Regions from separate parts of the Homo sapiens genome. Here all the other regions are linked to region 2. Evidence: promoter capture Hi-C in 16 types of primary human blood cells and fetal thymus (Javierre and others, 2016). All regions are on one chromosome and are shown on one strand. The core of a region is centred on a gene start or on the middle of the fragment in contact, and the rest is flanking DNA. Distances in the headings are between cores, read along the strand shown.

Region 1 (4,003 bases), core at 144-2,643, 420 kb after region 2:
CCTCCGACCCACCTGTGCACTGGGAAAAGGGGGTGGAGCCACGAAGTTAGCGTGGTTTGCAGAGGGGAGGAGCCCAGCCTCTTGTGTTCCTGTGTGGTGGGGCAGGAGCAGGTTAACAGGCCTCCCTCTCACTCTGCTGAAAGTATTTCTTTTTCCTTTTTCGCGCAATAAATTCCATTTTTCTCACCCTTCTATGCATCCTCAAGCCTAATCTTTCCTGGTTATGTGACAAGAACCCGGTTTTTAGCTGAACTAAGGAGAAAGTCCTACAACACTGCCACCATGTGGCAATTACTCCAAATAGAAGGAGAGGCTGAAGGACACACAACCAGGATGCAGAGAAAAAGATGGAGACAGAGTCTGTGCAAGATGGGATTGATACTGAGACTGGGTTAGCCACCTCTCCTAGACAGTGAAACAGATCGCAAGAGAGGCTGACCCAGAAAGACACATGCAAAACAATGGGCAATAGAACACATGACCTGAATTAGATTATCTGGGTTCAAATCCTGATTTTGCTATTCATTATCTGTGTATCACTGGGCAATTTACTCAATCTCTCTGTGCCTGAATATCCTCATTCAAAATCAGGGATGAAAAGAGTACTTATCTCAAAGGGCTATTTGCTCACTTATTGCACAAGTAATTTGGCATCTGATATGAACCAGGTGCACCTCTAGATGAGGATACTGTCACATTGAATGAAGACCAGTGACCAGAAGCCTGCCTCACAGCCCAGCTCAGTGAGAAAAATAATTCCATTCTCACCTCTAATCTCAACCCTGTGTCACCATTTATGTATAGTCCTTTGCATTAGTGTCTGGAAAGGTCATTTTTTGAGGGCAGAATGAATAACCTATAGAAGGATCATTCTTGGGTATAATGAATTAAAGAAGTATTATGAAGCTTTATAAGGCAGGATTAGCTCATAAAAATGGAGGGTTCTTTTGCTTTTCCAGTCCCATTTGTTGTTTCACAGACAAAGAATAAAACAATCACTGATGGCAAAGACTGCAAACTGCCAACGTTCATCGGTAGAGCAAGGTGACGCTCGTCCTGTCCAGGCCTGTGGTTGGGATAAGCTCAGAAAGCAGAGTCTCCAGGGCTGGTCATCATCTATCATAACCCTGCGTATAAAGAAAGCCTTGAGAAAGAAAAGAAGTGACTTATTATGTGTCTTCTGACCTGGTTCTCATTTTTATTCAAAACATTAGAACCTTGGGAAGATGAAGAGAGGGCCAGAAAAATGGGAAACCCTGGATACAGAAACTTGGCTAGCTGTTTACTTTTTCACTGTACATCTTTCTATTGCAATAGTTAAACCCCAATTAAGACTGAAATAACTCCTGAGGCAAACAAACGTAATTGTGGAGACAGAGGGGAAAATGTACTTCAGGGACTAGGATCCTGCAGAGGGTTTCCGTCTTCCTGACAGAAAAACAACTTTGAAAATTTGAGTCCTGGTAATAGTTTGTTAACCAAGAACTCTACAAATCCAGAAGGCACAAACATGGCTTGGGGAGCCTTACCTTGCCAGAAGGACTAACCCAGAGCTTTACTACACCATAGCTACCAAGGTGAGTAGACCTGACAATTCTTTTATTTATTCACATATGCCATATAATATTTCCCTCAGAAGTATGCATCTTGCTTTGTTCTTTGACTAAGCAAGGGAGTTTATGTGAGCCAGAGGACCTTGACTCTGCATCTAATCTTTACCTGGGGTCATAAACATGAAGGGGACCATTTCCAGAAGATGACCCTAGAAATGCTTGAGCATCTTTGTCCCAGTGTTCAGGATCTTGTACTGTAAGAGAGGTCCGGGGTGGTTCTTCCTATAAGGTTCCCTCTTTGGTTTCATCCAAAAATCACAAAGATAAAAAAGCTTTTCAGGTTTCTAGAAAAAACTCATTTTTAGGCTTACATTTTCACCTGCATTATAACTCTATCAGCATTATTAGCTTTCATCAAATTTCTTCATATCGTTTTTGGTGCATTTCTGTGATTTGCAAGTGGGCCAACTTTGTCTTTACCTATTAAGTAGTTAATTCATTAAGAAAGAGATAGAGAGAGTGTGTGTGTATATCTTGAAGGTTTTCTTTCTGCATCCATCCTTAAAGTCTCCTAATCCAATATATAATATTGTATCATATACAGAAGTCAACTTCATTAACCATATGCCAGTTTAATGGAAGCATCTATTAACAATCATTATGATTAAAAATCATACTTGCTCTTCAGAAATTTTCCACTTTTATTTTTGGCCAGGCTATAAGTAAGTATAACCTGATGTAACCCTGTAAATTTACCCTGGCATTATGTAGCAGGGAGCACTAATCTCATTTTCAGTTGAGAAAACTGGAGCTGAAATGGGTGCACTTCCTTACCTGCCTAAGCTATTAGGTATTAGAACTGGATGGAGCACTACACATCTATCTGAATGTGAAGCATGTTTTTTCAAATAGTTTTCAATCATGATTCCAAAAACAACTTGGAAGACCAGTCACCCTTCCTTCCTCTGATATTTTTCTTATTATTCAGTCAAAAAAATGGAAGTGTCTTATTAGTATTACAGAAGCTAATCTCTAATCTGAATCAGAGCTTTGGAACCTTGGGAAGATGAAGAGAGGGCCAGAAAACTGTGAAACCCTAGAAAAAGATAAGAAGAAACAAACATAAAAATATTTGATAAGGACATCAGGGTGGTGAAGTGTATGCAGGACATTCATTTTTGACAAATTCCAGGTTTCTGACTAAATATGTAACCAGTTCTTACTCCAAACCTATTAGTCCATACTGCTCTTCTTGTTATTAAAGCCTGTAGTTCATTTCACTATAGGCTATCCAGTTCAGATCATGTAATGCTTTGTTTAATGCATTGATATAGATGTTAGTCTCTTCATTTGGCACTGGAGGAAACTGAGGCAGAAAAGCAATAACTAATATTCCAAAAGTTATAAAGTTTCCTGGTATAAGACCTGAGTACAAGCCTAAATTCAGGCAGTTCACACTGCCAGGGACCTTTAAGACAAATTAAGATAAATCTAAGGCATCTCTTAGTGATTAGTAGAAAATGAAAGGGGACAAGGCTTATAGAAAGGTTAGATCAAACATCCTGGTTTCTTTTGTTTTGGGGGATTTATTTGTAGTTTGATGTAAGTTCTGGAAAAGAAGTGAGATTGGAGAGGTTGATTGTGAAAGAGTAAAATCCTGTTCAGACAAAAAGAGTAAAAATTAGCTTGGACTGGTAAAGATCAAAGTAGCTCTCCTGTTACCAATGTTGGGAGAACAGACACAGGTAGATCTGGTTACAGAGTCAACTGGACTCACTGGTTACACAGCAGTTGTAAACTGCCATAATTGCACCATTTGAGTGATGACTCTTTTCTTACCAATGTAGCCCCAACCTGCCTTGTATATCCAGACATCAGAGATCTCTAATTTATAAACTGCCTTCATCTCGTGACAGTATGCAATAGCTAATTAATCTACCTCTCCTAATGGCCCTTGAGAAACATCAACACATCAACAACTCCGCTTAGGGGCCCCTCAGATCCATCAGTGGGAACTCAGACCTCTCCTAAATGCCCTTGTAGAGTGACATTCTATGGTTCCTCTAGAGCACCTTCTCTGGCTACATCCAGTCCATGTATCTCATTGTTTTTCAGCAACAGGCTTGTTCCTGAAGGTCTTTGGCTGATTAACCATTAACATTTGAGGTCCTACAGTGAAATGCTATGCAGTTTGACTTTATATGGAGTACTTGGAAAACCCACTGAAAACTTGTAAGTACTGAAATTACAGATTCAGTTCGGGGTCTTGAAAGACAACTCAGAAATATTAAGGAATATAAATCAAAGATATGAAAATAAGAAGAGATAAACCAGAAATTGTTATACTAATCAAAATGATAGACATATAGGCATAATGAATAAAAGAAGTATCACAGAAGATAAAACATTGTTAAACTTGAGAAATGTTAAAGATGTTGAAACAACATGAT
Region 2 (3,938 bases), core at 427-2,926:
TGGAAATTTCTCATTTATTTTTCATTGATTACATGGATTATCTCATTTAGTCCTCCCAAGGACCCTATGAAATAGGTATTAATACCAGTGTTTGGATCTTATAGATGGAAAACCTGATGCTTAGGGCAGTTAGATAATCACCCAACAACTTACAAATAGTAAGCAGCAGAGCCAGGATTTCAATACCTATCTTCTGACTCCAGAGCCTGCCTAAGCATTAGGCATACTACCCTCTTTGTGCTACAAATCAATCAAAAAGCAATTACTGCAAGCCTAATGTGAATATGCATGCATGTTGAAAAGGAGTAGAAAATAGCCTTAAGTTGGTAGGATAGGGCTCAGTTTTATCACTCTGCTATCTTAGGAGCTAAGAAAGGGGCATTCTCTTTTTCCATATATCTTCTCCCATACTTTCCTGTCTTTCACCCTGCCCCACCCCACACCCCCATCCACATTTATACAGAAACAGAGCCTGGTATACCACTTACCGTAACAAGAAAGACTCAAGACCATCTTCCTTTTGGTTTCAAAAGGTCTCTAGTTCAGAACTATTCACAACACTCAATTCTTGCCTCTCCTAGAGGAAAAATCAATAATGTAGACGATGACCTTGTGAAATTTATAATTCATAATTTTTCTAGAGCTGGCCTAGAAAACTGGTCCCATTTCCTCTCCATTCTAGTGAGCATCCTTCAACCATAGCTTACCTCTTCCCATCTTTGCTTACACTGTTTCTCCTGCAGGAAGTACCTGCCACTGGTAGCCATCAGTTCCGACCAGCTCTAGACAAAATGTCAAGAATCTTTCTATTACTAACTGTAACTTCATAACAAAGCCCTAAGCCTCGTTTTTCGTTTGTTTTTTCTCCTTCTGCTAATTGTTTTTGTTTGTATTATCTCAACTCCTAAGATCAAAGACCCATTCGTCTACCACTACAAACCCCAAAGTGCATGTGATAAGTGTATATAATATAAAGTTATCTGTAATTCCATTTTCCAAAAAGAAATGGTTATAGGAAGATTAAACAAACCAGATTTTTCTGCAGATAGATTCAACTGCAACATAACTAATTTCTGCACTGAAGATGAAGCGAAAAATCCATTCAAGGTCCTTTTTTTCCTCGATATATATGAAAGATTATATTGCTTTGAAAAGTGCCTTGCAGTGTTTACTATCTCTAGGAACTACCGTACTAAGGTTCTCTTCTTTCAACTTTTCATTGACCATCTTTCAGTCCTCCGTCCGCCGTCAGCGGAGACCAGACCATGCTCAGTGTCCAGGAACAGGGGCTGCTCCCACTCGACTGTGGCCGTGGGTCTTGGGTCCCACCGCGCACCCATCCCACCCCTGGGCCCCGCAGGCCGCGCTTACCCTGGCAGCCGCCGGCGCCGCCCCTAGGCCTGGGGACAGCACTTCCGGTTACTCTCCGGACACTCGAATCTGGGCTTCCTGGCGGCCGCAGACTCTGCGATAGTAGATCTAAGGGCCAGGCTTCGGGAAGGAAAGAAAAGCGAACCCGGCACGGACAAGACCTAGGAGCAACTCCCTTCGTGCGCCTAGACTAGAGGAGTTGGGGCCAGGCCGCCCACAGAGCGCTTTAACAGAGCGCTTCAAGGGCCCACAAGGCCGGCTACGCAAACCCTTTCAAGCTGGCTGGGAAGAGGCCGGCGCAGCCCCACCCCCGCAAGTCACATGATCACCCCTCTCCGGCCACTAGGGCGTTCCAACCCCGGCCCCTGGGCCAATAGGAGCCGAGTCTTCGGAAAGGGGCGGGGCCCGGGGCGCCTGCGCTCTGGGAGCCCTCGGCGTTTTGGTGGGAGGGGGTCTTGCTGGCGCAGTGGAAGGCCGGCTGCGGGGGGAGGCGATCGCTGCCACCCTGTCTAAGAAGAAACGGCACCAACAGCGTTGCAGTTTATGTTACAGTTTCCCCAAGGCTGTTAACCGAGGACTCAAACCAGGAGTAGAGTCACAAAGATTAGATGCCACTGACCCTGAGAGAAACACCAGGAAAGATCTGGGAGAGATAGAGGATTCTGAAGCACAGTGGCAGCGCTGTCATCCACGAAGATGTGGCCAGCGAGATGGAAGAAATGCTTTTAAAAGTGGTGGACTTGTGTGGGTGGAGAAAACAGCAGCGAGAGAAAGTACTGTGGGAGGTTCCCCAGTCCTTGCTGATTATGTTTCTGATTTGGAATCAGCTAAGAGTAAATCACCTAGTGGTGGGGCTGGAACAGAACTCAGTTCTTTAGGTTGAACACTGGGTATTCTCCCAGCTCAATTGTTAAATTAAAAAAAACAAACCAACAAAAAACAGTTTTTAAATGTCCTCAGCTATCAAAGGGAAAAGATGAGTAGTAGGAATATGGAAAACTAAACCCTGGGCAGCCTGGCCAAGGACTTGGATTGTGAGCCAGTTGCTGAGGTTTAGTAATTGGGGAGCGCAGTCTCTGAGACACGTATTCAGTATTAACTAATCATGTTCCTACTAGTGGAATTCTTCCGCAGAGGGTCTACAGCTTATTCTACTTTCATGTTTATTTTTAATGAAACTTTCAAGGTCAAAATATTCCACTCAGGGTTGTCTTAATATTTTGAATAATAACATTTTGAGTGTGTAGCATGTATCAAACACTGTTCTAATAACTTTACACTATTGTCTCATTCAGTTGTAACAAAAATCGTGTGAGATATGTATTCTTTTAGGAGGAAACTGGTGCACAGAGAGATTAAGTAGCTTGCCCAGGATCACATATTACTGATGAAGCTGTAATGTGAACAGTCTGATGCCAGATTCTGTGCTTGCAGTCACTATACTTATGGCTACCTCAATAGTGGTGAGTGTATTGTGTAAAATTATTGGAATAAAAATTAAGCAAGTTGGATTCTGATCTCTGCACTGCATATAACAAGGTCTGAATATGTGTAGAATTGAACTGTTCAACCTTTTCTTTCAGGATACATTGGCCCAAAGTACTCTTTATTAATTGTTTTATTCAGTTAAACATTTATTGAGCACCTCCAATTAACAGGACACCATAGGCCGGGCACGGTGGCTCACGCCTGTAATGCCAGCACTTTGGAAGGCTGAGGCGGGTGGATCACCTGAGGTCGCGAGTTTGAGACCAGCCTGACCAACATGGTGAAACCCTGTCTCTACTAAAAATACAAAATTAGCCAGGCGTGGTGGCGCATGCCTGTAATCCCAGCTACTTGGGAGGCTGAGACAGGAGAATCGCTTGAACCTGGGAGGTGAAGGTTGCAGTGAGCCAAGGGCACTCCAGCCCGGGCAACAAAAGTGAAACTCCATGTCAAAAAGAAACAAAAACCAAAAAAACAGGACACTATGCTGTGTGTTAGGAATTAAAGGCCAGTGAGACTCAATACCACTCCTTTAATGGCTCACAGTCTGGTATGGAGACGGCAGGGGTTTTAGGTGGTGTGGTAGAGGTAGAAGTTGTATAAGGTCATCTGGGGGCATAGAGGTGAAGCACTTTGTAAGAACTTTGAGAAAGAGTCAGAAAAGACTCTGTAGGAGATGAGACATAAGGTGAGACTCGAAGGAATAGAAGTAAGGAGTTGGCTGAAGATGAGCCTGAAATGGAAGATGGAAAATAAGTACAGAGACATTTGAATGTGATTTCAGTTAGTGGAATTTATCTTATATGAAATGGGAAGCAATTCTTGGAATTTCAAGCTGTGGAAATAGGGCAATTATCCCCACATTTAAAATCTTTAGAAAGATTATTTTTAGTTTTAAGTATGAGGATAAAGAGTAAGAAGGAGCAGCCAGGAAATTATGAGGAAAACAAAAGTGGACTACGACAACCAAGGGAGGAGAGTTTCAGTTAAGAGGTTTTTGACCAGACACTGTGGCACATGCCTGTAGCCCCAGCTGCTTGGTAGGCATAGGTGGGGGGATCACTTGAGCCCAGGAGTTC
Region 3 (4,000 bases), core at 453-2,952, 300 kb before region 2:
AGTTTTCTGATTTTAAAAGTAATTTGTTTTTATTCTGGAAAATGAGAAAAATAAGGAACTTTTTTGGAGGTTCTAACAAGGGGGTGAGTGCAGCTACTCATATATCCTTAAATGATCCGGCTGGGCGTGGTGGCTTATGCTTGTAATCCTAGCACTTTGGGAGCCCAAGGTGGGCGGATCACTTGATGTCAGGAGTTCAAGACCAGCCTGGCCAATGTGACGAAACCTCACATTGTGAGGGGGCCTGGGGCTAAGCAATAGAAAAAATTTGCTGCTGAGCATTAGGAAGTTTCTCCCTCTCAAAACTGTGTGCTCAAAGAGGATGACCTTTCCCAATAGAGGAGGCTCATTCTTATTTTTTAATTAATTAATTAATTTATTATTATTATTATTTTGAGATAGAGTCTCACTCTGTCACCCAGGCTGGAGTACACCCAGGCTCACTGCAACCTCCGCCTCCCAGGTTCAAGCAATTCTCCTGCCTCAGCCTCCCAAGTAGCTGGGACTACAGACATGTACCACCACACCCAGCTAATTTTAGTATATTTAGTAGAGACGGGGTTTCACCACATGGGTCAGGCTGGTCTCGAACTCCTGACCTCGTGATCCACCCGCCTTGGCCTCCCAAAGTGCTGGGATTACAGGCATGAGCCACCACGCCCAGCCTCTTTCTTCTTTTATTGCAGACCTCTGGGATTCAGTTTACCATGGCCCTTCTCTCAACAGCAGCCACCAGCAAACCACTTAACCCCTTGGGCTCCTGCTTCCCTTCAACCAAGAGCAACAATCATCCTTTTCTTTTCTTTTTTCTTTTTTGAGACAAGGTCTCACCCTGTCACCTAGGCTAGAGTGTAGTGGCATGATCTCAGCTCACTGCAGCCTCTGCCTACGGGGTTAAAGCGATTCTCCCACCTCAGCCTCCCGAGTAGCTGGGACTACAGGCATGTGCCCCCACGGCCAGTTAATTTTTGTATTTTTTGGTAGAAATGGGGTTTCACCATGTTGGCCAGGCTGGCCTCGAACTCTTGACCTCAAGTGATCCGCCTGCCTCGGCCTCTCGAAGTGCTGGGATTACAGAAATGAGCCACCACGCCTGGACAGAAATGTTAAAATTTTAAAAAATTATTTTAATGCCAATTTAAATCTAAAAATTGTAACCTAAGCAGACTCTATATCATCTGGTTCACATCTTTATAATCAACTGTTGTGGAGTGGTTCCAGTTTCCAAGGAAACTACTGTTTATCATATCAGTGACCAATGACTTCCCTAATAACAAATTTTAACTTTTAATGCTGCATTTTTTAACTAGTTCCCATCTCTTTCAGTAGTTAGAAGACATATTTTCAGATGTATTATAAAAATTAGTTTTTGTCTAAACAAGTTTTTTACATAACTCTGCTGAAGAAACTCTGGCCTGAAAGATGAAGTCCAGCTTTCTTGGACTTTTTTTTTTCTTTTTCTTTTTCTTTTTCTTTTTTTTTTTTCGAAACGGAGTCTCGCTCACTCTGTAGCCCAGGCTGGAGTGCAGTGGTGCGACCTCAGCTCACTGCAACCTCTCCCTCCTGGGTTCAAGCAATTCTCCTGCCTCAGCCTCCCGAGTAGCTGGAGCTACAGGCACCCACCACCACACCTGGCTAATTTTTGTATTTTTAGTAGAGACGGGGTTTCACCATATTGGCCAGGCTGGTCTCGAACTCCTGACCTTGTGATCCGCCCACCTTGGCCTCCCAAAGTGCTCGGATTGCAGGCGTGGGCCACCGCGCCCGGCCTCCTTGGACTTTTTATCTGCATTGCAGGCACTCAGTGGTCCAGGCCACCTACTTCTGCTCTACCTTTGGACATCCTGGCAATGTGCTGCTCCTCAGCCTGACCACAACACCTGCAGTGTCCCAAACATATCATGCAGTTTCATGCCTCTGCACCCATTTCCTCTCCCTGGTCAACACACCTGGGTGACCCCTATTCTACTCACTCAGACAAACCAGGACAGGATCCTTGACCTTTCTGCAACTCTATTTTTCTCACCTAGAAATAGAATTAATGACATCTACTTCTTTAGCAGATGTTTAGGAATGAGATACGGTGTGGAGAGCACCTGGTGCGAACACAGCGCGTATCTGTGATAGTGACCGTTAGCCGTTATCCTCATCACCACATCCTTTCCCCACATCTCAGATGGTGCCACAGTCTACCACCTCAGAGAGAAAATAGAAAAGGGAGGTCCCAAACTTCCTGCTCCACCACCTATACCTGTCCCTCATGATCTGTTTCCTCTGATTTCAACAAGCAGGTGTTCTTTCTCCTGTCTCAGGCTAATTCTGCACCCACATCGGGGAGCCCCCACCCCAGCTTCCCTCAGGCTTCTCTATTTGGTCAATTCATTAATTCATTCATTTGACAAGGATCCATGAACGCTAACTATGTGCCAGTCACTATTCTAGGTGGTGGAGTCACAGAAGTGAACAAAACAGAAAGTTCTCATTCAAAAACAACATAACTTGTGGTAGGAGGCAGACAGGAAATGAAATAATTAGTAATATATATGGTGTGCTGGATGATGATAAGTGCTCAGGAGAGAAATAAACCTGGAATAGCAGAACTTGCATTTCTTTTTGAAGGGGTCTTGCTCTGTTGTTCAGGCTAGAGTACATTGGAGTGATCATAGCTCACTGCAGCCTAATTTTTTTTTTTTTTGAAAGACAGAGATCTTGCTATGCATACTGCCCAGGTTCTTGAACTCCTGGCCTCATGCAATTCTCCTCCCTCGATCTTTCAAGGTCCTGTGATTACACCTGTAAGCCCTCGTTCCCGGTTGGAAGTTACAGTTTAAAATAGGGTGGTTATGAGCAAGGGGAGCGAGGCACAGAATACTTGGGAGAAAAGCATTCCGAGTTGAGAGAACAGCAGTGCCAGAGCACAGAGGCAGAAGCACTGTGGTTTGTGTGAAGAAAAGCAATGAGGCTGGGGTGCGCAGAGCACACAGGGTGATCAGGAGAAGAGGAGGTGACAAGGCCAGAGGGGGTTGAGGGCCAGATCATGTATGGCCTTGAAAGTCATCATGCTGACCTGGGCTTTACCTCTGAGAGGGGAGCCACTGGAAGGTTAGAGCAGAAAAAGGACTGGACTGACTTATGTTTTAAGAAGTTACTTCACATGCTAGACCAAGATGGGCTGTGGGTAGGGGTGGTGGATGGAGGCCTGAAGACCCAGCTGGGAGCTACTGCAGTGATCCAGGGGAAAGATGCAGATGACTTGTACCAGGGAGGAGCCATGAAAATGTTATGATGCTGGATTTATTTTCAAGATAGAATAAAAAGGCTTTGCTGATAAACTTACAGGTGGGGTGTGAAAAAGGAGGGCATCAAGGGTGACCACAAGGTTTTGGTCCTAAGAAACGGTACAGATGGAGTTGCCACTTACTGAGATGGGGAAAATGAGGGAGAAACCGCTTGTGGAGGCCAGAGGAGGAGCCAGCACAGAATCCAAAGGTCAGTTTTGAATATGTTGGGTTTGAGGAGCTTACTAGAGATTCCCGTGGAGATGTAGAGTAGGCAGGTCAATAATAAGCTTGCAGTCCAGGCAACGGGTCAGGGCTGGAAACACAAGTTATTCTCTTTGTCTTCTTTATATTCATGTTTGTTGCCACTGTGTGTTTCACTTACCTAATGCATTCGTGATTTATTGCTGCATAACAAATTACCACAAACTTAGTGGTTTAAAACAGTACACTTTTCCAGCCTGGGCAACATGATGAAACCCCATCTCTACTGAAAACGCAAAAAATAAAAGATAAAAAATTAGCCCAGCGTGGTGGCACACACCTATAATCCCCGCTACTTGGTAGGCTGAGGCACAAGAATTGCTAGAACCCAGGAAGTGGAGGTTGCAGTGAGCCAAGATTGTGCCACTGCACTCCAGCCTGGGCAACACAGCGAGACTCTGCCTCAAAAATAAATAAATAAATAACAGTACACTTTTATCACTTCAGTTTCTGTGGGT
Region 4 (3,787 bases), core at 230-2,729, 490 kb after region 2:
CAAATTTAGCCAGGTAACAACCTAGCTTAAAATTCGTGGACTCTTTCTTTCACTTGGTTCTTCCAAAAAAGTTTCACACTGCTCATCACCGGCATAGTCATTCTAGCCTCTAATCACACAATAAAACCCACCACCTAATTCTAACCCACCACCTAACACTTAGCTCAAACCCTGTGCTGCTGGGGAAGTTCCCTTCTCCTCTACTCCAACTTCTTGCTTCGGGGCGGACTGTCTCTAGTCTGTCTGTTGTCTCCCCTCTGAATCTACTTGCTTTTCATTTTCCTTTTCTATAAGCTTTCTTGTCAAAAGGAAAAATTACTGATTGGACCAATTGACGCTGAACATGCCTTAAAAACTAGTAAACTATTCCAAAAATCTCCGTGATGATTTCATGTTCCGTTTCTTCACTCCTGAGAAAAGCTGTGCTCCTCCCCTTACCCTTGCAGACTATCCTGCCTGGTGGTCTGGCATCTTCCCGATGTCCCGTGGGCTGCAGAGATGGAATCAGGGGGTGAGGGGGAAGCAAAGCAAGGCAGAGCTGGGTACAGCCTAGAAGAGGTTAAATAAGGTAACTGCTCGAGCGAAAGCCATACGTACTGGAACGCCATCGGGAACCAAATTTACTAATATATAAACTCACGTTAGAACGCCATTACATGGTGGAAAGTACACGTGACACAATAGGCTTTCAACAAGTTCTAACAGGAAGTCACAGCACTCGACACAACGGAAGTATCCATTTTCGCGCCAAGAGCCAGGAAGCACTTTCTGTTAACACAAGTTTCCTGCACATCCCTAATTTTTTAGGCGCCATATTCCTCACTCAGTACTAACAAAGTGTATGTGGCTTCTCCTTAGCCAGACTCGATTACAAGCACTGCATGCATTACTCAGTGTGATAAGATCATGATAATCCCTTTAAAAAGATCGCCCGAATTTAAGCCTGGATTAGGAACACGTGTTTACAGCTCTAATATCGATAATTTAAGTGGCTCTTAAAAGAGCCTTTGGGGTTGGGCTTTAAGACGCTTACTTGGCAAGTTTACTTAGCGCTGGTGTACTTGGTGACGGCCTTGGTGCCCTCGGACACGGCGTGCTTGGCCAACTCCCCGGGCAGCAGCAGGCGCACGGCCGTCTGGATCTCCCTGGAGGTGATGGTCGAGCGCTTGTTGTAATGCGCCAGGCGGGAAGCCTCACCCGCGATGCGTTCGAAGATGTCGTTGACGAAGGAGTTCATGATTCCCATGGCCTTAGAGGAGATGCCGGTGTCGGGGTGGACCTGCTTCAGCACCTTGTACACGTATACGGAGTAGCTCTCCTTGCGGCTGCGCTTGCGCTTCTTGCCGTCCTTCTTCTGCGCCTTAGTCACGGCTTTCTTCGAGCCCTTCTTGGGCGCGGGAGCGGACTTCGCTGGTTCCGGCATGTTGAAGGCGAACTACGAGCCTGAGACGAGCAGCAGATCGAGAAAACGGGAAGTAATGGGAGCAAGGTACCAGGAGTCGTTTTTATATAGGACCTCTCATGCAAATAAGGTGAAGAGTGAAAGTCCTGTATCTGATTGGTGGTTATTAGGGTGACGTCAGAGGTTAGTTATACCCAATCAACCCAATCTGCAAATCCAAAAGACGTACTTCCATTGGTTAAAACTAAGCTACAACCCTAACCAATGACATATCTTCTTTTTCGCGCCCAATAGTGTTTATAAAAGGCGCTGCCTTTCCTCGTTGGCTACTTTCAGTAAGTTGTGACCAGTATGTCTGGACGTGGCAAGCAAGGCGGTAAAGCTCGCGCCAAGGCCAAGACCCGCTCTTCTCGGGCTGGGCTTCAGTTCCCCGTGGGCCGAGTGCACCGCCTGCTCCGCAAGGGTAATTATGCCGAGCGGGTTGGAGCCGGCGCGCCAGTGTACCTGGCTGCGGTGCTGGAGTACCTGACCGCTGAGATCCTGGAGCTGGCTGGCAATGCGGCCCGCGACAACAAGAAGACCCGTATCATCCCGCGTCACCTCCAACTGGCCATCCGCAACGACGAGGAGCTCAACAAGCTGCTGGGCAAAGTCACCATCGCGCAGGGTGGTGTCTTGCCCAATATCCAGGCCGTGCTGCTGCCTAAGAAGACTGAGAGCCACCATAAGGCCAAATAAGGAGCGAGGTTGTGAAAACTGGAAAACAAAGGCTCTTTTCAGAGCCATTCTACACTGTCTTAGAGAAAGCTGGACACAGTCATGTTTGTTTCACTTCATGTTTGCTTCGCTAGATAACATTGTAAAGCGCTTCTTTCGCGGTTGGGCTGGAGCAACTCTTTACAATGTTTCTAAATTAACCCACTGGAAAGCAATGAAGACCCAAAAGTTGTTGTAGGATACTCCGGAGAAGCTTATTCAGCAGGGGTAATAAGTGAAATCAAACGTACAAATCCCTGAAATCTATTTACTAATTCCAGTGGTTTTTTTTTTTTTTTTTTTTTTTTTGAGATGGAGTCTCCAACAGGCTGGAGTGCAGTGGCGCGGCGCGATCTCGGCTCACTGCAACCTCCACCTCCCAGGTTCAAGCGATTCTCCTGTCTCGGCCTCCCGAATAGCTGGGATTACAGGCACACACCACCACGACCGGCTAGTTTTTTTGTATTTTTAGTGGAGACGGGGTTCCACCATGGTGGCCAGGCTGGTCTCGAACTCCTGACCTCAGGTGATCCGCCCGCCTCGGCCTCCCAAAGTGCTGGGATTACAGGCGTGAGCCACAGCGCCCGGCCTCCAGTGTAATAATTCTATTACATTAATAGTGTTGTCAAACAGCCATAAAAATGGGATATACTTGCCATTCTTTAAAGGCAAATTTTGCAATTCTAAGTATTCTTGAAAAGCAAGAAAGGGCAGCCTGATTCTTAAGTGGTCTAACTCTTAAGAGTAACTTTACCCAGGTGATGAAAGTCTAGTGACTCATTTGCATTAGAATTTGATTCCGATGGAAGGAGAATATGGGATGCAGAATTTCCTGAATCCCATATTTGTAAATCCTTAGTCCCATTTCTTTGGAGCAGGTGTATTAATGCACTCTTGTAGTAGCTTAGGATACAACATAGCTTTTTCTGTCTAGCTAATTTGTATTATCAAATTTATTAGATCGGGATTGCTATTGCTTTTGATTGCTTGTCCACATTAATTTACCTACCCTAGGAAGCCCTATGAGTTTCCTTCCTCCGCCCCACCCCCTCTTGATATTACTTGGCCTGCTTTTACTTCATAGCCTCAAGGCTTTCTGGCTATTCCCACAAAATGCCAAACACATTTTCTGTCTTAAGGCCTTTGCACTTTAAATTCCCTCTTCCCCTGATAACTACCTTTCTCACTTTTTTTCAATCTATGTAGGTCTCTGATCAAGTAACACCTATAAAGAGGTCATCTTTGTTTATCTCCTCTCTAAAATGGAGGGCCCCATTACGCTCTCTATGCCTATGGGGATAGGATATATATTAATTGAAATATTACATGTATACATCTTTATTTTTTCTCTACGGAATTCAAGCCACTTAAAAAAGACACCAAAAAATAGTATTAACTTTATGTATTTCACAAAGATTTAAGAGGACATAGTTTGTAATTCAATACACATAGATTTGTTTGCTACTCCCAGTCTTTGCATGCAGAAGCCCAATTGAAAAAGAAATGCAAGAGATGCAGAACGAGAAATTATAATGTAGTGACATATGAGTTCTCGATAAACAGATGCTGAGATGGAGTTTGGGATGCAAAATGTTTATTAGGGCTCAATATCTGTGAAGGGGTGAAGGA
Region 5 (4,004 bases), core at 1,460-3,959, 450 kb before region 2:
ATTAAAAAAAAAAAAAACCGTTGGTTTAGGGTGATAGTTCCATTGAAAATCAGATTTTTCTTCTAGCCAGCAAGTTGTCCGTAGGCTGATACTTTGAAATCAGGAAAATAAATAGTTACTTTGAATGTCATTTTTAAAAAGTGTGAGCTCGTGCATATATATGAAAAGCATCATGTTATTGGTGCTAAGGCACTAGTTCGAGGAGAAAAAGTTTTATGAGGATGTTAATGTAACAACAGCAACAAAAAGGAGCACATAGCATGTACCAAGCATTGTTCTATGCTCTGGGAATTACAGCAGTGAATGAGAAAGAACAAAACGATATGTGTGCATAGAATTTATATTTATTGGGTGGGGGTACACACACAAAATAAGTGAAACAGTGTGTCAGATGGTGCTGACTGCTATGAAGATCACTGAAGCAGGAAAAGGCATAGCATGTGGAGGGAAGAAGTGATATTTTAAATGATATGGTCTTGAAAAATTTTACTCATAAAGTGATAAAGAAAAAATACATTGAGAAAGTGAGAGAGTATTCTAAATAGAATACCCAGCAGGAAAGCATGGAGGTAAAAAGCAGGTATTATGACTGGAAAAAGGGGCAGAGGTGAGGCAGACAATGGAAGGCAGGACAAGGGACCCCTCCACACTTGTTTACTTGCTGTGCTGACTACAGCAGCACCCAGCTCCATAACCTTGCAGCCACTGAAGCTTCCGCTCATAAAATCAGCCAATCAGACATAAAAGAAATAGAACACTCTAACGACAAACATCCTCGCCATCAGCATAGGGACTTCCAAAAGACCTTCCCCAAATGAACATGTGCTATAGGGACTTTGATTATCCTAACCTAACTTTTGCATCATGTTAATGATAAAATTCATACCCCTGCGTGGAGATTTAAGCTGCCAATGAGACCTGAGACACAGGAAAAAGCATGACAAGGGACTGCAAAGGTGTATCCAACAGACCACCCCAAACATGCCATGATGTCACCTAGACGAAGCTCACAGAAGAATAACAAACTAGACTAGCTTGCTTTCAAGGAGCCAGCTGCAAGTATACCTCTGGTTGCTGTCTCCCTTTCTGCTCAAGCCGAAAGCCCTAATAAACTTCCTTGCTCAAGTCCATCTTAGATTCTTGGTCGATTTCTATTTTCTGAGGGTCAAGAACCCACTGCCAGTATCAGACAGGGTGCAAAGAAAAAGCAAATATGATCTGCGAGGCAAATGGAGACGAGTCTCTATATGGCCTTGCAGACCAGTGTGACTACTGTTTTACTCTGAGTGAGATGGGAGCCACTGCAAGGGTTTGATCGGAGAACTGACATAATCTGATTTATAGACACACACACACACACACACATACACATATATATATATATTTTTTTTTTTTTTTTTTTGAGACAGAGTCTCAGTCTGTCGCCCAGGCTGGAGTGCAGTGGCGCAATCTCGGCTCACTGCAACCTCAGCCTCCCAGGTTCCAGTGATTCTCCTGCCTCAGCCTCCCAAGTAGCTGGGACTACAGGTGTGTGCCACCACGCCCAGCTAATTTTTTGTATGTTTAGTAGAGATGAGGTTTCACCGTTTTAGCCCGGATGGTCTTGATCTCCTGACCTCGTGATTTGCCCACCTCAGCCTCCCAAAGGGCTGGGATTACAGGCGTGAGCCACCACACCGGGCCTGATTTTTATTTTTTTAATGAGCTATCTGGATGCCTGATGAAGAATAAACTATGATGAGACCAGGATAGGAGCAAGGAGACCAGTTCGGAGGGTACCACAGTAATGCAGTTGAGATGGCAGTGGCTTGGACCAGTGTGTTAGTGGTAGAGGCTGTGAAAAGTGGTTGGATTCTATATATATTTTGAAGTAAGGTTCATAGTTCTTTTCTGAGCTACTGAATGTGTAGAGTATGAAAGACAGACCAAAATGTATGGATGATTCCAATGATTTTGCCAAAGCAACTGGAACTGGAGGTATCAATTGCTAAAATGTGGAAAAATAAGGAACAAGTTTTGGAGAGGATTCAAATTCTTAGTTTTGGATATCCAGAGAGAATTTAAGATGCCTGTTACATATCTAAGAGAAAGATATGAAAGATATGAAATAGGCAGTTGGCTATAAAAACCTGCAGGTTAGAAAAGAAACATGGAGATATAATTCACAGTCGTCAAACCATAATTGCCGTAAGAGTGAAAAAGCCACAAGATGGGATTAAATATCTTAAGAAAGAAGGTAGATAATAAAGAGAAAAAGTTTTGGGTCAAAGAAGTAAAGAGTGTTTTTTTGTATACATGACATGTGAATTCCTAACTTACAGTTTTACAATTTCTTTCTCCAGTAATTTTCCTTTTCTCCTGTAATTTTCAGAACAAACAATAAATATTATCCCTATTTTACAAATGTGGAAAAATTCCCTTACTAATAAGAGTATGAAATAACACTGGAATCCTCACTTAAATAATCTATTAAAGTTAGAGCCATGGGGAGATCACTTTGGAGATCCAGTTATAGATATTCACAGTTTTTCCAAAATACACCCACTCTCACCACATATTTGGGGACATTTGAATCCCCTGATGCAATTCTATGTGTTCTCAGGCATCCTGAAGCCTATTCGTGGAAACCAGCTTCAGAGCTCTGTATCTGATGCTGCCTTTTCTCTTCCCTTAGCACTGCCACTTCTGATGGCTCTGAGAAGATGGACCTGGAGAATGAAAATCTCCATCTGATTCTTTTGAACTGATATTTCCTTGTTGCTGTGGAGATACTATATATATATATTTATGTCATGAACACTAAATGACCAGCCTACAGCGTTGTACTCCATACTCAGAGACCCTGTTATTTACTTGAAAGTCCAATTAATATGAACTTCAAATTTCAACAGAATCTCGTTATCTTTGCCAAACAGCTAATCTCATCATCTTGAAATTGGTGAATGGCATTTATACACTTTTAGTTGGAATCATCTCTTTTTCTTTCACATCCTACATAATAATCTATCAGTAAGTTCTATGAGCTCTTCCTTGAAAACACAAACAGAATTCAACCATTTCTCATTCCCACTGCTGCTACTCTGGTCAAGCCCTGCCATCTCCTACCTTTATTATTGCAACACCATCATCACCTGGTTCTCCCAGAGGAATTCCAATAAAGGGCAATTCAGATCAGATGACTCCTCTGCTGAAACCCCCCCAAGTGGTTCTCATGTCACTTAATGAAAAACTCAAGGCCGGGAGCAGTGGCTCACGCCTGTAATCCCAGCACTTTGGGAGGCCGAGGCGGGCAGATCACGAGGTCGGGAGATCCAAACCATCCTGGCTAACACGGTGAAACCCCGTCTCTACCAAACATACAAAAAATTAGCCGGGCGCAGTGGCGGGCGCCTGTAGTCCCCAGCTACTCGGGAGGCTGAGGCAGGAGAATGGCGTGAACCCGGGAGCCGGAGCACGCAGTGAGCCGAGATAGCGTCACTGCACTCTGGCCTGGGCCAAAGAGCGAGACTCCGTCTCAACAACAACAACAAAAAAACACCTCAAGGTCCTTTCAGTGGGTTACAGCGCCACACTGTCTGATCCTTGTTACCTCTTTAGCCTCAAATCCCGCTACTCTTCCTCTCCTTCCTAGCCAACTCGACTAGTTCCTGGAACTTGCTAGAAGTACTCATCACTCTCAGGAAGGACGTACTAATGGTTCCCCTTGAGTGGTCCACTCAGCTTCTAGGTTTCTGCAGGTGTTGTTCACTCACTTCCTTCAGGTTTGTATTCAAATATCATAGTCTTCTTGAGGCTATCCATAACAACACTGTTTAGCATTACAACACCTCCCCACCGCCTCCCTCTATATTTTTTCCTGCCCTTGAGGAGCTTTCAGTCTATTTGGTCAGTCAAAACATGCCCTCATGGGAAGCAGAGCAGGAATTAAATATTATATAGAATGTCAGAAAAGAGGCCAGGCACAGTGGCTCACGCCTGTAAGCCCAGGAATTTGGGAGGCTAAG

The links. Contacts are between HindIII fragments. The CHiCAGO score rates a contact against its expected background, and 5 or more counts as called.
Region 1: a contact is called between a fragment that was not itself captured here and the fragment with the promoter of ZNF322 in region 2, in 5 of 17 cell types (M1 macrophages, M2 macrophages, M0 macrophages and 2 more). The highest score is 8.5, in M1 macrophages.
Region 3: a fragment that was not itself captured here is called in contact with the fragment with the promoter of ZNF322 in region 2 in 1 of 17 cell types (neutrophils); the score reaches 5.6 in neutrophils.
Region 4: the fragment with the promoter of H2BC12 here is called in contact with the fragment with the promoter of ZNF322 in region 2 in 1 of 17 cell types (monocytes); the score reaches 5.1 in monocytes.
Region 5: a contact is called between a fragment that was not itself captured here and the fragment with the promoter of ZNF322 in region 2, in 1 of 17 cell types (neutrophils). The highest score is 5.2, in neutrophils.

The regions. Positions count from the first base shown.
Region 1 is chr6:27,078,793-27,082,795 of GRCh38, forward strand. No RefSeq gene overlaps it. Among named protein-coding and RNA genes, the nearest start is that of TRP-CGG2-1, 11 kb to the right of the region's middle. RefSeq lists a silencer at 1-43. The HindIII fragment of the contact is 979 bases long and covers 905-1,883 here.
Region 2 is chr6:26,658,070-26,662,007 of GRCh38, forward strand. ZNF322 (zinc finger protein 322) reads right to left here and starts at 1,677. Exons shown (of 4, transcript NM_024639.5): 1 at 1,372-1,677; 2 at 489-577. RefSeq lists enhancers at 1,107-1,607, 1,328-1,377, 1,388-1,577, 1,608-2,108, 1,808-1,867 and 1 more. The HindIII fragment of the contact is 5,113 bases long and covers 1-3,938 here.
Region 3 is chr6:26,358,748-26,362,747 of GRCh38, forward strand. No RefSeq gene overlaps it. Among named protein-coding and RNA genes, the nearest start is that of BTN3A2, 4.4 kb to the right of the region's middle. RefSeq lists an enhancer at 2,279-2,328. The HindIII fragment of the contact is 3,727 bases long and covers 1-3,566 here.
Region 4 is chr6:27,145,376-27,149,162 of GRCh38, forward strand. It overlaps H2BC12 (H2B clustered histone 12), which reads right to left and starts at 1,480. Exons shown (of 1, transcript NM_001312653.2): 1 at 986-1,480. The coding sequence starts at 1,423. The coding sequence ends at 1,043. H2AC12 (H2A clustered histone 12) reads left to right here and starts at 1,731. Exons shown (of 1, transcript NM_080596.3): 1 at 1,731-2,187. The coding sequence starts at 1,754. The coding sequence ends at 2,140. It overlaps MIR3143 (microRNA 3143), which reads left to right and starts at 2,251; the gene lies at 2,251-2,313. RefSeq lists enhancers at 378-487, 907-1,823, 1,078-1,537, 1,868-2,117. The HindIII fragment of the contact is 2,078 bases long and covers 293-2,370 here.
Region 5 is chr6:26,206,755-26,210,758 of GRCh38, forward strand. No RefSeq gene overlaps it. Among named protein-coding and RNA genes, the nearest start is that of H4C5, 4.1 kb to the left of the region's middle. The HindIII fragment of the contact is 4,000 bases long and covers 710-4,004 here.